3 separate regions of the Homo sapiens genome follow, and regions 2 and 3 are each linked to region 1. The links are contacts of gene promoters, found by promoter capture Hi-C in human tissues and cell types (Jung and others, 2019). All regions are on one chromosome and are shown on one strand. Each heading gives the region's core, a stretch centred on a gene start or on the middle of the fragment in contact. The rest is flanking DNA. Distances are from core to core; before and after follow the strand shown. Region 1 holds the start of TMEM132B (transmembrane protein 132B). Region 2 has its middle 27 kb from the start of LINC02359. Region 3 has its middle 190 kb from the start of LINC00939.

Evidence for each region. Contacts are between HindIII fragments. The study calls those that stand out against the background at their distance.
Region 2: a fragment that was not itself captured here is called in contact with the fragment with the promoter of TMEM132B in region 1 in 1 of the 25 tissues and cell types used here (mesendoderm cells).
Region 3: a fragment that was not itself captured here is called in contact with the fragment with the promoter of TMEM132B in region 1 in 1 of the 25 tissues and cell types used here (mesendoderm cells).

What each region holds. Positions count from the first base shown.
Region 1 is chr12:125,184,439-125,188,871 of GRCh38, reverse strand. TMEM132B (transmembrane protein 132B) reads right to left here and starts at 2,486. Exons shown (of 9, transcript NM_001366854.1): 1 at 2,006-2,486. The coding sequence starts at 2,072. RefSeq lists a silencer at 2,494-2,703 and an enhancer at 2,752-3,285. The HindIII fragment of the contact is 11,061 bases long and covers 1-4,433 here.
Region 2 is chr12:126,067,054-126,071,486 of GRCh38, reverse strand. No RefSeq gene overlaps it. Among named protein-coding and RNA genes, the nearest start is that of LINC02359, 27 kb to the left of the region's middle. The HindIII fragment of the contact is 4,397 bases long and covers 1-4,337 here.
Region 3 is chr12:125,787,451-125,791,883 of GRCh38, reverse strand. No RefSeq gene overlaps it. Among named protein-coding and RNA genes, the nearest start is that of LINC00939, 190 kb to the left of the region's middle. The HindIII fragment of the contact is 4,604 bases long and covers 78-4,433 here.

The DNA of each region.
Region 1 (4,433 bases), core at 1,237-3,736:
TTTTTTTTTTTTTTTTTTTGCCATCCCTCCTAACTAGTGCTAAATATAGAGTTATCAAACTGTCGTCTCTTTATGTCCCTGGTAGGGACCAGTTAAAGACTTGCATGTGCTTCCAGGGACGGGGCGATGGCACTGGGGGCTCTGCCCGGACGGCATTTGTCGGAACGAGCTGCCCTGCTGAGACTCTCCCAAAGAACAGCAGGGGAGCAGGCAAAGAGCCGGCCAGCAGCAGGTTTCAGTGGGAGCTCACCTTCCCTCCCAACATGGGGCCTTCCAGAGCCAGGCACAGGCTCTTCTGTTGCTGGGGGAGAGGGCGGGGGACGGGGGTGGGGGGGTGGTAGGGGGACCATCCTATTCTCTTACAAAGCATTATGCAGGCAGCTTCTCTGAGAGACTTCCGATATTCACTTATAAGCACATCCAGGCAAATGCTGACCCCCGTGGAGAAACAAAATAGAGACAAAACTGCAATTTTCAAGTCCGAGGGACTGCACTTTTGCAAACAGGTCCCAGGGCTTCAGCTAAGAGAAAACAGCCTCGGCCCCAGCAGCAGCCCCTCTCGTGGACCGCAGAGGAATGCCGAAAGCAAAACAGCTATCATAGCTGCTCCTTAGCCAAGCAGGCAAGATTCATCCACGTTAAGCCCAATGCCATTCTCTAGGCTGAACCAAAGCCGAACGCTGACGGAGATCTCCAATAGAAGGTTTTCTTCAAGTCGAAGGTGTTGGTAAATATTTTGGGTCACTTAAGGGCATCTCAAAGGAAGCCGACACTGACTTTTTCCATGCAAATAAAATACATCGAACATCAAGTTGACATGCCAGGTTTGCTCCTAACTGCAACCTTACCAAGACAGTGAAAGCCGAAAAGTTATAGTTGTATTTTTCTACTGCATTCTGCCTGTCTGTGCGATTTGTTTGTTAAGGAAATGGGGAGAGATTTTCTAAAGCAAAAGCTACCTGTTCCCAAATCATGGGTCTTGATTTTAAAAGGTTTGGAGAACTGAGATTTCAAAAGCACATGAAGGCTGCTCGTGACTGTTCCCGGGGTTCATCTGAGCCTTTAGGATTTTCTCCACTGCTTGCATGGGGTGGGGGGAGGGGAGGAATTGTCATTTTAGGATACGCTTTCTATAGAACCAACATGTAGCCACACCAAGGTGGGTAGAAAGCTTTCCAAACTCCAGCGAAGACAGACAATACCTGACTATTTTGCTTTTCCCACTCACTAGGATTGGGCGACAGCTGAGCTGGTTCAGCAGGGAGTCCAGCTCCCCGGTGCCCAGGCAATGGCTCTGGACAGCACCGCGTTCCAGGCTCCCCGGCGCGTCCTGGACTGCTTGGCCGCGGCTACCCTCTCCCGCCCGCCTTGGGGTCAGGGCGCTGGAGTAGACCGCGTTTGCAGGAGGCGCGCAGCGGGCTGCTCTTTGGCCAAGAGGAGGCCATTTGGCGAGGGTGGGTAGCTTGGGGAGGGCAGTGTGAAAGCAGGGGAGGGCCGCGGGGCGTGGGGAGGGGCTGCGGACAAGCCAGACAGCGCCGGCCGAGACATCTCCGGGGCCCGCAGGTGTCCCGGGAACGCACCACTGTGCGACCGCGGGCAGCAAGACACTGGAGAAGGGCTGCGTCGACGCCCCCGCCCAGCAAAACCCCTGGAGGAACTGGGACCTGGGGGGGATTTGGCCCAAGGCAGGGCGGGGAGGGGGCTCGATTCCTGCAGTCGCGTCCCCACCCGCCTCGAGAGGCTGAGTGCCCCGGTCTGTGGCCCCCGTGCGTCCCGAAAGGATCCGCAAGGAAGCTAAGGGTTTGGGGGAGAAGGCAGGCGGGCTCTCCCCAGGCGCTAGGCAAAGGGGAACGCGCCGGGGGCTCCTGGGTTCCCAGGGTCTCCCCAGGTCTGTCCAAGTCCGGGAGATGCGCGCTGCCAGGGACTTGAGAAGGAGGTAGCCGCCCGTTCACCCAACTTTGTGCGCCTCGGCCGGGGTCGGGGATGGGGTCCGGGGACGCGTTACCTGGGCACTGGAGCGCAGTCAGCGCCAGCAGGAGCCCGAGCGGCGGCGCCCGGCCCGGGGGCGGCATGGTCCTCGGCGCGCGGTGGGTGCGGCGCGGGGCTGCTCCTCTCGCGCGCCCGGCCCGGCCCGCGGCTCCCGGAGCAGCCCCCGGCGGCTACGCCCGGGCGCCGGGCATGGCTCGCTCCCAGCGCGCCGCTCCTCCCCAGACGCATGCGCCGGCGCTGGCGGCGCTTCCTCGGCTGCGCCTCTGCGCGCTCTCCTGGGCTCGGCCGTGCGTGGCTGGGGAGCTGGGGCGGCCGAGGCTCAGCGCCCCGCGCCCTGGCCGGCTGCCCCGCAGTTGGCCCGAGTTGCGCGGCCCCCGCCGCCGCCGCCGCCGCGGCTCCTGCGCCCCAGCGCCCGTCCCATCCCGGTCGCGCCGCCGCCGCCGCCGCCGCCTCTGCCATCGCCATCTGCCGGCCGCCCCTCGAGCCAGCGAGAGAGTGAGCGAGCGAGCGAGCGCCGGGGGGAGGAGGAGGAGGAGGAGGAGTAGGAGGAGGAGGAGGAGGAGAGGAGCGGAGGGCGGGGCCGCGGCCGGGGGAGGGGCCGCCCGGGAGCCGGGGCACAGGCGGCAGCCCGGCCAGTAGGCGGCGGGACGCGCCACTGCTCGGCGGTTCGGGGGAGGGCGCCCGGCCGGGAGGCTCCGGGAGCCCGCCGGGGGTCGCGGGCGCTCGCGGGTACAGGGGCTGCGGGAGGGGTGCGCAATGCAGAGAGGGGATGCCCAGCTAGATCCGGCGTCTTGGGGCGCAGCGGTAGGAGTTGCCAAGGTCGAGGGGTGAGGAGGCCAGCGGAGGGTCACCGGGATGGGGCAGCGACCTCTGGAGAGGTGGTGTCTGCCGGGGCCAGAGACTGCAAGACTGAGCGCGGACAGGAGGTCCCGGGTTAAATGTGGCACAGCTAGGGAGTGCCTGTGGGAGAGGGGAGAGGAGAGAGGGGAGGGCCTCCGGGAGGCCGAGGCTGTGTGCAGAGCCTCTGCACGGCACCGGGATGGGGGCTAGGGGTGCGCAGGCTGGGTGCGGTGACCTGAAACACAGCGAAGGCGGCCTGGGGATGGCCACCCGGGTGAGGCAGGGTCCCTTATTTACCCAGGCTAGAGGATGCGCCTTCCCATTTCGCGCAGGCCCTAGGAGCACGCGGAGGCAGCCAGGAGTTCTCCTGGGAAGGGCAGATTCCCTGGCGGTCCCGGGAATGAGTTCCCAGCGCAGGGTCAGGCAGTGACGGAGCGGAGGTGTTGCGCAGGGCCGGGTACTAGGTGGTCGAATTCTTCCATCCAGGGGCAGGGACGCAGCCAGAGTGCGGAGGGAGGTCACAGGTCACACGGAGCCCCAGTACCTATTATCCCAGAAACCACTGATCCTCCTGGGCGCCCCACCCCCAACCAGGGCAAAGCCACGGGGGGCTAAGCCGAATGAATGAGTCATGCTGGGAGCATGTGGGGGAGCCTCCAGCAGCGCTCAGATGCCTTCAAGCTTCCCCACCACGCTGGGAGGACAGGGGATATGGGGGGTTGCCCACCTGGGAGGGTGGCTTGGAGTCCTGGCTCCGCCCCAGCCCCCACCACACCAGCCACTTGCTCTGCCATCTCAGTTTTCCATGAAAAAGTGGGTCAAACTCTTTGAAAATGGTCAATAAGGCAGCGTGGGGTGATGAAAAGACAGATTTGGGGAAGGCTCTGGAGTCATGGAGTCTTGGCTGAGAATCCCAGCTCTGCCGCTCCTTAGCTGTGCAAGCTGGGGCGAGTCCCTTATTCCTCCCTGAGCCTCAGTTTTCTCATCTGAGAGATGGAAGGCATTGCACATCACCTGGTGTCCCCAATAACACATACAAAGCCCCTGACCTAGGAAGTCGGAACTCATTTAAAGGAGTCAGTGTCAACATTATCATTCTCATCATCATGGCCATTATTATGATAGATCTGATTTTCCTCTGCGGGCCCAGAGCTCACATCAGAAGGACAATCCTCCCCACTCCCGGCTGCCAAGAGGGGATGGGGGACAGGGCACCTGCTTGATTAGTACAGACAAGCTCATTAGCAGAGGCAGCACTCAGTTCTTCCTAGATAAAAGAAGGAAGAAAGCCAGGGGCAGGTGGTGAGTCTCCAGCCCAGGTTAATTAGGAGACGTAAAGGGATTTTCCCGTGGCTGTTAATCGGCTTCCTTTACAAGGGGCCCATGCCCAGGCCAAGCCCCCTTTGGGCTCCCTGGCAAGGCCTGCAATGTGTGGAGAGCCATACAACAGGCTGGACGACGGGATTGGGGGTCTCCTCGGGCTTAGGGTGGCCTTGCGAGGGGCCCATCTGTCCCCTTTCTGTGACCCTTTCCCCAGATAAGAGGATGATCCTGGAGACGTGGTCAGGACTCTCTTAGGGTCCTCTGTGCCCGGCTGCCCCCAA
Region 2 (4,433 bases), core at 890-3,389, 880 kb before region 1:
CACTCCAGTGCCTCTACCTGTCCAGCATACCTTCTCTTCTTGCTTGCAATTACCTAAATTACCTCCCTTTTCCCTTGCCCCCTCTCAGCCAGTGTGCTCCCCTGAAATAGCAAGTAAGAACAGGCCCTCCTGTGTGCAAACCCTCATAAGCTTCCAAGTCTGCTCAGCCAGTGTGCTCTCCTGAAATAGCAAGTGAGAACAGACCACCCTCTGTGCAACCCCTCATAAGCTCCCAAGTCTGCACAGTGACCCACAAGGCCCCACTTGGCCTGGCCCTCCATTATCCCACACTCAGACCCCATCTCTTATTAGAGTGACCTCACTGTGTTGGCCTCCACATGGTCCTGAAGCAGCCAGGCTGGCCCTCACCCTAAGCCCTTCCCTCTGCCTGGATGCTCTTCCTATATCACCCCAGCAATTGCAAATCACCCCTCAGTTCAGCATGTGGTGAGTGTGTGCAGAGCTGTTCTGGATAACCAGGTCAGGAGGGATGCACATGGTTGGGGACTAAAGTCCCTTGACTTGTGCTTCCTTAGCAGGACTCTAATCCCACCTCCTCACCAGCTCCCAGGCTGGCTCTTCTGTCCATGCCTCTTTACCTCTGGCCCTCAGCATCAGGCACCTGGATGCCAGTACTTCCTTCCCATCTGGTGTCCTAGCAGCCACCCTCCTTTCCTCCACAGTCAGGGAGAATTGTGTACACTGCCATGCTTTAACACTTTCACTGGCTCCACTTCTTACTGCGTCCCACAGGTTCTGCCTTATCTAGCCCCTGCCTGCATGCACTGCCTAATGTCTTGCTCTTTCTGTTCTTCAATCCAAAGCTCCACCAAACTCAGCTTGTGTCCCCAAGGCATAGGAGCCTTGTTACATGCTGGCCCCTCAGTTCGCAAAACATTTTCCAGCATATCCGCTGGGCTGTCTCTGGCTTCTCCTTCGAAAGTCAGCTTGATTGCCACTCCCTCTAGGAAAGCTCATGATATTTTCCCACTCCCCCAGCTCCTCTGCTGATGAGACTTGCATCATTCAGAGTCCCCACTTCTATATTAACTCTTGCTGTCTGTACTCAGACCAAAATCTGGACATGTTCAATGGAGCATGAGTTCCTTCAAGATGCCATCTTTATTTCTGAATCCCCCATGCCCTGTGTGATGACATTCAGAGATGAAGGAGGAACCCAGTCATTGCTTGTTGTGTGAATGGATGGATGAGTAGGTGTGTCTGTCTCACTCACTAGTCTATGATGCCCATGGGGTTAGGATCAGTTGACCACGTGTTACATAAATGAACTAAAGATGGCCCTTTTATTTTTGGCCTCTGGATTGTATACTTCTTCACAGTAGGCTGGGACCATTAGCTCAAAAGCCCACTGGCACTCAACTCAAATTTTTACACATCTAATTGTTCTAATCATAGCCCAAATAAGCAGACTTTTATCCACTTAGAGCCTGCCTGCTTTGGATATCTACCAAAAGTGTGCCCCCTATCTGCTAGCCATTGATAAAATAAACTCTTTTGCTGTAAAAGACCCCAAGCATCTTCTGCTCTTCAAAGCTCTCTAACCCAAACTTCCCACTGTGCTGCTGAGAAACATCACCTGGAAACATAAGCCCCATCTTCCCTAGAATTTCCCTTGACCTCTTCATCTTCTAGGTAGGGCTCCTGAACCATGGCCTCTGGATGGTCTCGTGCCATGAGGGACTTGCCCTGCTGGCAAATCTGTCAAAGCGAAGCCTGAACAAATTCATTGTGCGCTACTGCCACCTTGTGGCCATATGGTTTTCCTTGATCAACTCTGAAATCCCTGGAACTCACTACACCTTATTAGAGTGAATCTCATGTACCCCATAAATAAATATGCCCACTATGTACCCACGAAAATTAAACATTAAAATTAAAAAGGAAATATGTAATGTTCAGCAATGAAAACCTGTTACCATCATTGCGCATGAACCAACGGACATCTTTTCCTTATCCCATTGTATACAGCGGACACTCAATCAATGCTGTGGAATGAATGGATAGATGGATTTGTCTCTCTTTATTACTTTATGTTCTCTATTAAGCCAGGATCTGTTGTCCTCATTAAGGTGCTCCCAATGAAAATCTTCTGTCCTCTTCACCCTGGAACCCCAGGCCAATTTCTCACTGGGCAATGGTTTATTATGAATCCTTAATTGGTGCTTTCTTCATTGAACAATATGAAGAGAAAACCACCTGCATTCAAGTGATCTCTGGATTTTTATCAGGGGTAAAGATCCTGATAAACAGAGATAGAACACCATTACCTGAATCAGACCAATTCAAAACCTTAAACACAGATTAGGACACAGAGATAGAACATGATTACCTGAATCAAACCAGCTCAAAATCCTAAACACAGGTTCTTAGACCCCTGTATCTCTGGCTGTACTAGAGCCTCATGGCAGTGACAGGAAGCCAGAGCCTCCCAGGTCACAGAGTTAAGTCCCTTGCTTGATAAAGGATTTAACTGAAGCTCAGAGGGCTTATGTGATGCAATCTGAGGTCAAGAGTGGGCTAATCAGAAAGCTGGGGTTAGAACCCCACTCTGAGCTGCTTTCTCAGACATAATCTCATATTTCTACCATTTTTTATGTTTTTCAAACATATTTTGATGCTTGTGTATCATTTATTCAGACAACATTTAGGAAGTATAAAGTTTGTACTGTGCACAAGCATGCACCGTTAATAAAGCTAAATTTCCTACTGTCGTCTTCAAGTATCCAGCTGCCATTTGAGCATTACTTCAAGCATTTGTTTACATCAACTTGTTTATTATTTTCGGATTTGATACATACAAAATAAAGCATACCAGATGTCACAAGAAAGCTTCTTCAAAATCAATATGAGATTTATTTAGATTTCTTGTTTTTCCTGCTTTCCCTGTGAGCCAAATGACTGCCAATCATTCCCAAATTTCTATTATCAAAAATGGAAGCTTGCTTTCTAGAATTTGGAAAAATAAAGTAATATTTGCTTTATGCCCCTGACATGAATCACCCCTCTAATTAGAGGAGAGTTGGAATGACTGCACACAATAGCATATGCAGTGATGTGTAGGTACAGTGACCTATTAATGCTTGTGACAATGTTCCCAGGCTGGGCTGTTTCCTATTGTATAGGGAGGCACTTTGTAACTTTGCATTTGCTCAATGGGGCTTTGTAAGCTGAAATTGGGTTAGGTATTATCTACAGCCACAAATGAACAGAGGTATCAGTGAGTGTCTGAAGGCCCTGGACAGAGAGTAAAAATGAAGTTTTTCTGTGCTGTAGAGCCTGATGGTGTGACCAGCCTCCAAGATAAATACCAGTAGAACAGCTGCCAGCCACAGTCACAGGCTCGAATCAATGAAGACAGAAAAAATCATTTCAGATGCCACATCCCTGCTTTGCCCTGTTCCCAACTGTGGACCTGCATAAACTACAATACAAGAAAGATTCATTAAAAATAGAAAAGTCTCCATGTGATTCTAACTGGAGTCACTCACAAAACTTCATGCTCTATTCTCTCAAGAACATGCTTTGATCTAGGGGATCTGTGCCCTTGAAGAAGCCTTTTTGGCTAATGCTGCTTTTGGCTCTGATCCACGGAGTTAATGAGGGTGAAGTCCATTTTCCTCTCTATGGACATTTCAACATCATGGCCAGAGGAGGTAATTACTTCTCCCTTCAAATTGAATTAAGAATTTTAAGAAGATGTCACTTTTGTCTTTGCATGAGAAAAATCAGCTTCCTCATTATCTTCCAACCCTGGGACACTTTCCAGTGGTGTCCGTGTTGGATTTCTTTATTTAAAGCCCCCCTACTGGACTAACACAAGAGAACCATCTGGCTGGATAGATTCCGAGAGGGGCTTTGGCAGGAAACAAGGACTTAAGATCTCTACAACATAGAGATCTTACACAATCTCCCATGATAGAGAAATACACTCAGAGGTATACATAGTAACACAAGAGTCACACAATAGCCAGGTATCTTGTTTTGCAGCTTTCAGAATTCAATTTAATGGGATAAGTCATTTAGGGTATGGGAAGAGAGGAGAATGAACTCACAGCAGCTTTTCTTCCTTTCACCTTATAATTTAAGTGTAAAGCTTACCTCAAGGTCTATTAAAAGAAATTTCTGTATCAGCTATTTTATTTCTATCCACAGAACAGCCCTCACATCATTAAAGGTCTTAAGTGTAACAGGTTGCCAATCACTGGGTGCTGGGAGGAGGACAGAAATAAATTAACAAACAGAATTTTCGGGAAGACATGGTCTTCTGTGGACCCCAGATAGTTAGCTGCTTAGAGCACCCAGGCATTTCAGGGAGAAACTAAATGGGTAGCTGAGCTTCAGAGGTCCCCAGGAAACTCAGATGTCCCCCAGAACTGTGCACTGACTGGAAGCCTTAATGTGCCTTCTGGCGA
Region 3 (4,433 bases), core at 1,130-3,629, 600 kb before region 1:
CCTCCTAACCAGCTCTCAAATTTGCCCACTTGCTTCACACCCAGGGCTTCTGCCTTCCTTTAAGCCACAGTTTTCTTACCCCCAGATCACCAGTGCCATCTGGGCTGACCCCTTCAATTCTGCTCCCTCAGGCTTTTCCCCCTGCAGCCCCAGGGATCTTCCTGAAAGGTAAATCGAGTTACCCCACTTCCTCCTGAAGACGTTCCAAGGGCTCCCCAAATGCCTGGTGGGTAACAATATGTGTCCCCATTTGGTGGCTGCCAACCCTTCAGCCCCATCCCTTTTACCCTTCACACCCCACTGGACCATTCAGTCCCAAGAATGCATCATGCTCTCCCCATTCTGAGGCTTTTCTGGGTGCCATGCTTGCCTGGACGTTCCCTAACCCCCATTGGTGTTTGGCTAGCTCCTCCTCAACTCTAAGTTTCCTGTTTAAACATTTAATTTGCTCGATCCTCTCAAGTGTGGGTTCAACATCTCTGCTGTGGCTTCCTGTGGTATCTTGTGTCCCCACTGGAGCCCTATGCCATAAATAGCTGTTGCACTGAACCCTCAAGATGCAAGGAAAATAATCTAGAAACAATTCTGGTTTTGTCTTTTCCTTCCCTTTCTACCACTTAGAGGGATGACCCTTTGTCTTCCCCCTGGATAATGACTAGGAGGGTTTACAGCTCACAAGTTCTGACACAGAAAGGTTGTTATCCATCAATGTGTCACTCCCTCTTCCAACATGCAGAGCTGTCACAGGGAGCAGCTGTCCAGCTGGGAATAACATTTGCCACCATGACATTTAGTTGGGGGTGTGTGGCTAGTTGTCACCAATAGGGTGTGAGCAGTGGTGATGTGTTGCTTCTGAGCCAAGGTGAGTAGGAATAGAGAGTGTCAGCTTTGTACTTTCTCTTCCCCTATCCAAATACAAATATGCAAAATGGAAATAGCCGGGTTCTCAGCAGCACCTGGAAGTTGTTACTGAAACACCAGGGGTTTGGTCTGAGTCCTACTGCTTACTGCACAGAAAGCAAATCACTGAGACGCCGAGTATTGCCAAGGAAGAAGGCTTTAATTGGTTGCTGCAGCTGAGGAGATGGGAGCTCAGTCTCAAATCCATATCTCTGACTGACTAAAACCAGGGCTTTACATAGCAGGCAAGAAATGTAACAATGTGTAAGAAAACAGGAACTTGGGAAGGGCAAGGAAGCCATCATGGTGAATGAGGGGTCCAGCATCTGGTGTGGTGATCTAGTTTCCCTTCTTTGATATTTTTTGTGAGAAGCATGAGGTCGTTTCCTGAGAAAGGAACTCAGATAAAACAAATATACGCTTCAAGCTTTAACAGCACAAGGGTCCATTTCTATGTTTATCCAAAAGCAACTCTCTATGGGACTCTTAAGGCTGGTTTCAGAAGGACTTCCACTAGCCAGATTTAAGGGGGACATAATTCTCTTGTGTCTGTCCATTGAGATTTGGGGATTTATTTGGTATTCTGGTTACTGCTATTCTATCGTATTCCCCTATAATCAGTCTTATAATATCCTTAAGATCATATAGTCTCGATGTGTTATTTGAAAATTATATTAATTACATAAATCAAAATTTTATAAACTTGCTATAAGTAAAATGTCCTCCCTGTTTAAGTCGGCTCCCTCCCCAGTGAACATTGTTCCTTCGCCCCCATATCTGCTAGCTGCCTTTGTCTATTGGGGCTTCTGCAACAAAGTGCAGTAGCCTGGGTGGCTTATTGACAACAGTTTATCTCTCACAGTTCTGCAGGCTAAAAAGTCCAAAGTGAAGGCTCTAAAGATTCAGTATCTGGTGAGGACCCGCTGCCTCCTCGTCTTCATGCAGTAGAAGGGATGAGGGAGCTCTCTGGGATCACTTTTTTAAGGATACTGTATTAGTCTGTTTTCACGCTGCTAATGAAGACATATCGTAGACTAGGTAATCTATAAAGGAAAGAGGTTTAATGGGTTCACAGATCCACATAGCTGGGGTGGCCTCACAATAATGGAGGAAGGTGAAGGAGGAGCAAAGTCACATCTTACATGGTGGCAGGCAAGAGAGCATGTGCAGGGGAACTCCCCTATATAAAACCATCAGATCTCATGAGACTTATTCACTATCATGAGAACAGCATGGGAAAGGCCTGCCCCCATGATTCAATTACCTCCCACTGGGCCCCTCCCATGACACATGAGGATTATTACAATTCAAGATAAAATTTGGTTGGGGACACAGCCAAACCATATCAGGCACTAATCCCATTAATGTGGGCTCCATCCTCATGATCTAATCACCTCCCAAAGGCCCCAGTTCCTCATACCATCACACTGGGTGTTAAGATTTCAACTTATGAATTAGGGAGGGGGACACAACATTCCATCTATAGCACTAGCTAAGGTTTTTGATCCCAAGGGTGGCATGTAAATCAAGCAAACCTATTCTTCTTTTATTAGTATTAAGTAAGGTGGCTTTGCATCCCCCAGACATGGAAGGTGTTAATTTTTTTTTTTTTTTTTTTTTTTTTTTTTTTTTTTTTTGGAGACAAGTTCTCCTTCTGTTACCCAGGCTGGAGGGCAGTGGTACGATCTCAGCTCACTGCAACCTCCGCCTCCCAGGTTCAAGAGATTCTCCTGCCTCAGCCTCCCGAGTAGCTGGAACTACAGGTGCCTGCCACCATGTCTGGCTAATTTTTTATATTTTAGTCGAGACAGGGTTTCACCGTATTGCCCAGGGTGGTCTCAAACTCCTGAGCTCAGGCAATCTGCCTGCCTCAGCCTCCCGAAGTTCTGGGATTACAGGTGTGCACCACCATGCCTGGCCCTAAGGTGTTAAAATTTGACCCTTTTTCTTATACATATACATCCACGGGTCCTCCCAAGACCCTCCTCTGGAGAAGCTGCTATATCTGCTGAATCTACCCAAGCAAAATTTCCTTGGTACAGACGAGTCCCATCTTTCCCGCTAGATGTTTCTGAGTCCTCATGACCCCTGAGCTTCTGTTCCATGCAGAATAGCACAGCCCCTTTCAGTATGGGGTTCCTTGCTGCAGCCCACTGCCATCTTTTAAAATATCCCCATACCAATATTTTGACTGTTGACTGTGTTGTAATATGTCTCCAAGATTCATAACACTTAGATCCACCCTCCAAGAGCAGCAGAGAATTTTTCCCCCTCTCTCCATCTCTGCTGCTATAGGCTCTTTGTGTTGTTATTCTTTAACTATTGTGTTAAAGTGTTGTTGTTGTTTAACTATTGTCAACTCTGAATGCAATTTAACAATACAACTTTGTAATTACCCATACAGAAAAACTGTGTTTCTCAGCAACAAATCGGGAAATTAAATTCACCAGCTCACCCAAAGCTAAAAATGCCCAAATACTTCCAACTTTCTTTTTCCTTTAGCACCATGCAGCTTATCAAAAATGTTACTCTGGGCCGGGCGTGGTGGCTCACACCTGTAATCCCAGCACTTTGGGAGGCCAAGCCAGGCGGATCACTAGGTCAGGCGATTGAGACCATCCTGGTTAACACAGTGAAACCCCGTCTCTACTAAAAATACAAAAAATTAGCCGGGTGAGGTGGCGGGTGCCTTTAGTCCCAGCTACTCGGGAGGCTGAGGCAGGAGAATGGCATGAACCCGGGAGGCAGAGCTTGCAGTGAGCCGAGATCACGCCACTGCACTCCAGCCTGGGCGACAGAGCGAGACTCCGTCTCAAAAAAAAAAAAAAGGAAAGGAAAAAAAAGAAATCATCACACAAATATCTAGAAACCAAGGATAACAATTTCCTCATATTTGTAAAATAAATTATAATGCAAGTTGATTAACTTTTTTAAAATAATCAGCTGGTCCTAGACGATCTTTAATTGATGGAATAAAAATTGTTCTCTAGTTGTTTAAGACAAGAGACATTCTTTGATGTCAGATATTCATCATCAAAATAGTAACAAATATAATAATGCATTAACCATATATTGTTTGACTGCCATCTATGTGCTGATGTATAGTTGGGATGGAGACAAGCAGTTGCCCTCAAACCCATCCTCCTCTTCTTTCAGTGAGTAATAGAATACCCACTTTTCACCAGCTTCTCAGGATCATGGCCACACTTTCCAGCACCCCTTGTAGGAAGATGTAGCAACGTTACTGTGCCCAGGCCAATGGAATCATGGGCCTTTTCCAAGGCACGATTCTGTTTCCCCTTATCTCCTTCCTGCTGGTTGTACTGGGATGTGTTGAACCACCTGGGACCAAGTGGATAACATCCCAGGAATGGCCAAGCAACAAAAGAGAAAGAGTCCGGGTCCCTTGTGACTTTGGATTAATGAGGCCACTTAGTTGATGATTAATGGCAGCTGCCAAACCAACTCAGTTTTACTGGAGAGGGAACAAACAGGTGTCCTAATTATTCCAATGGGTAATAGTGAAGAAAAAA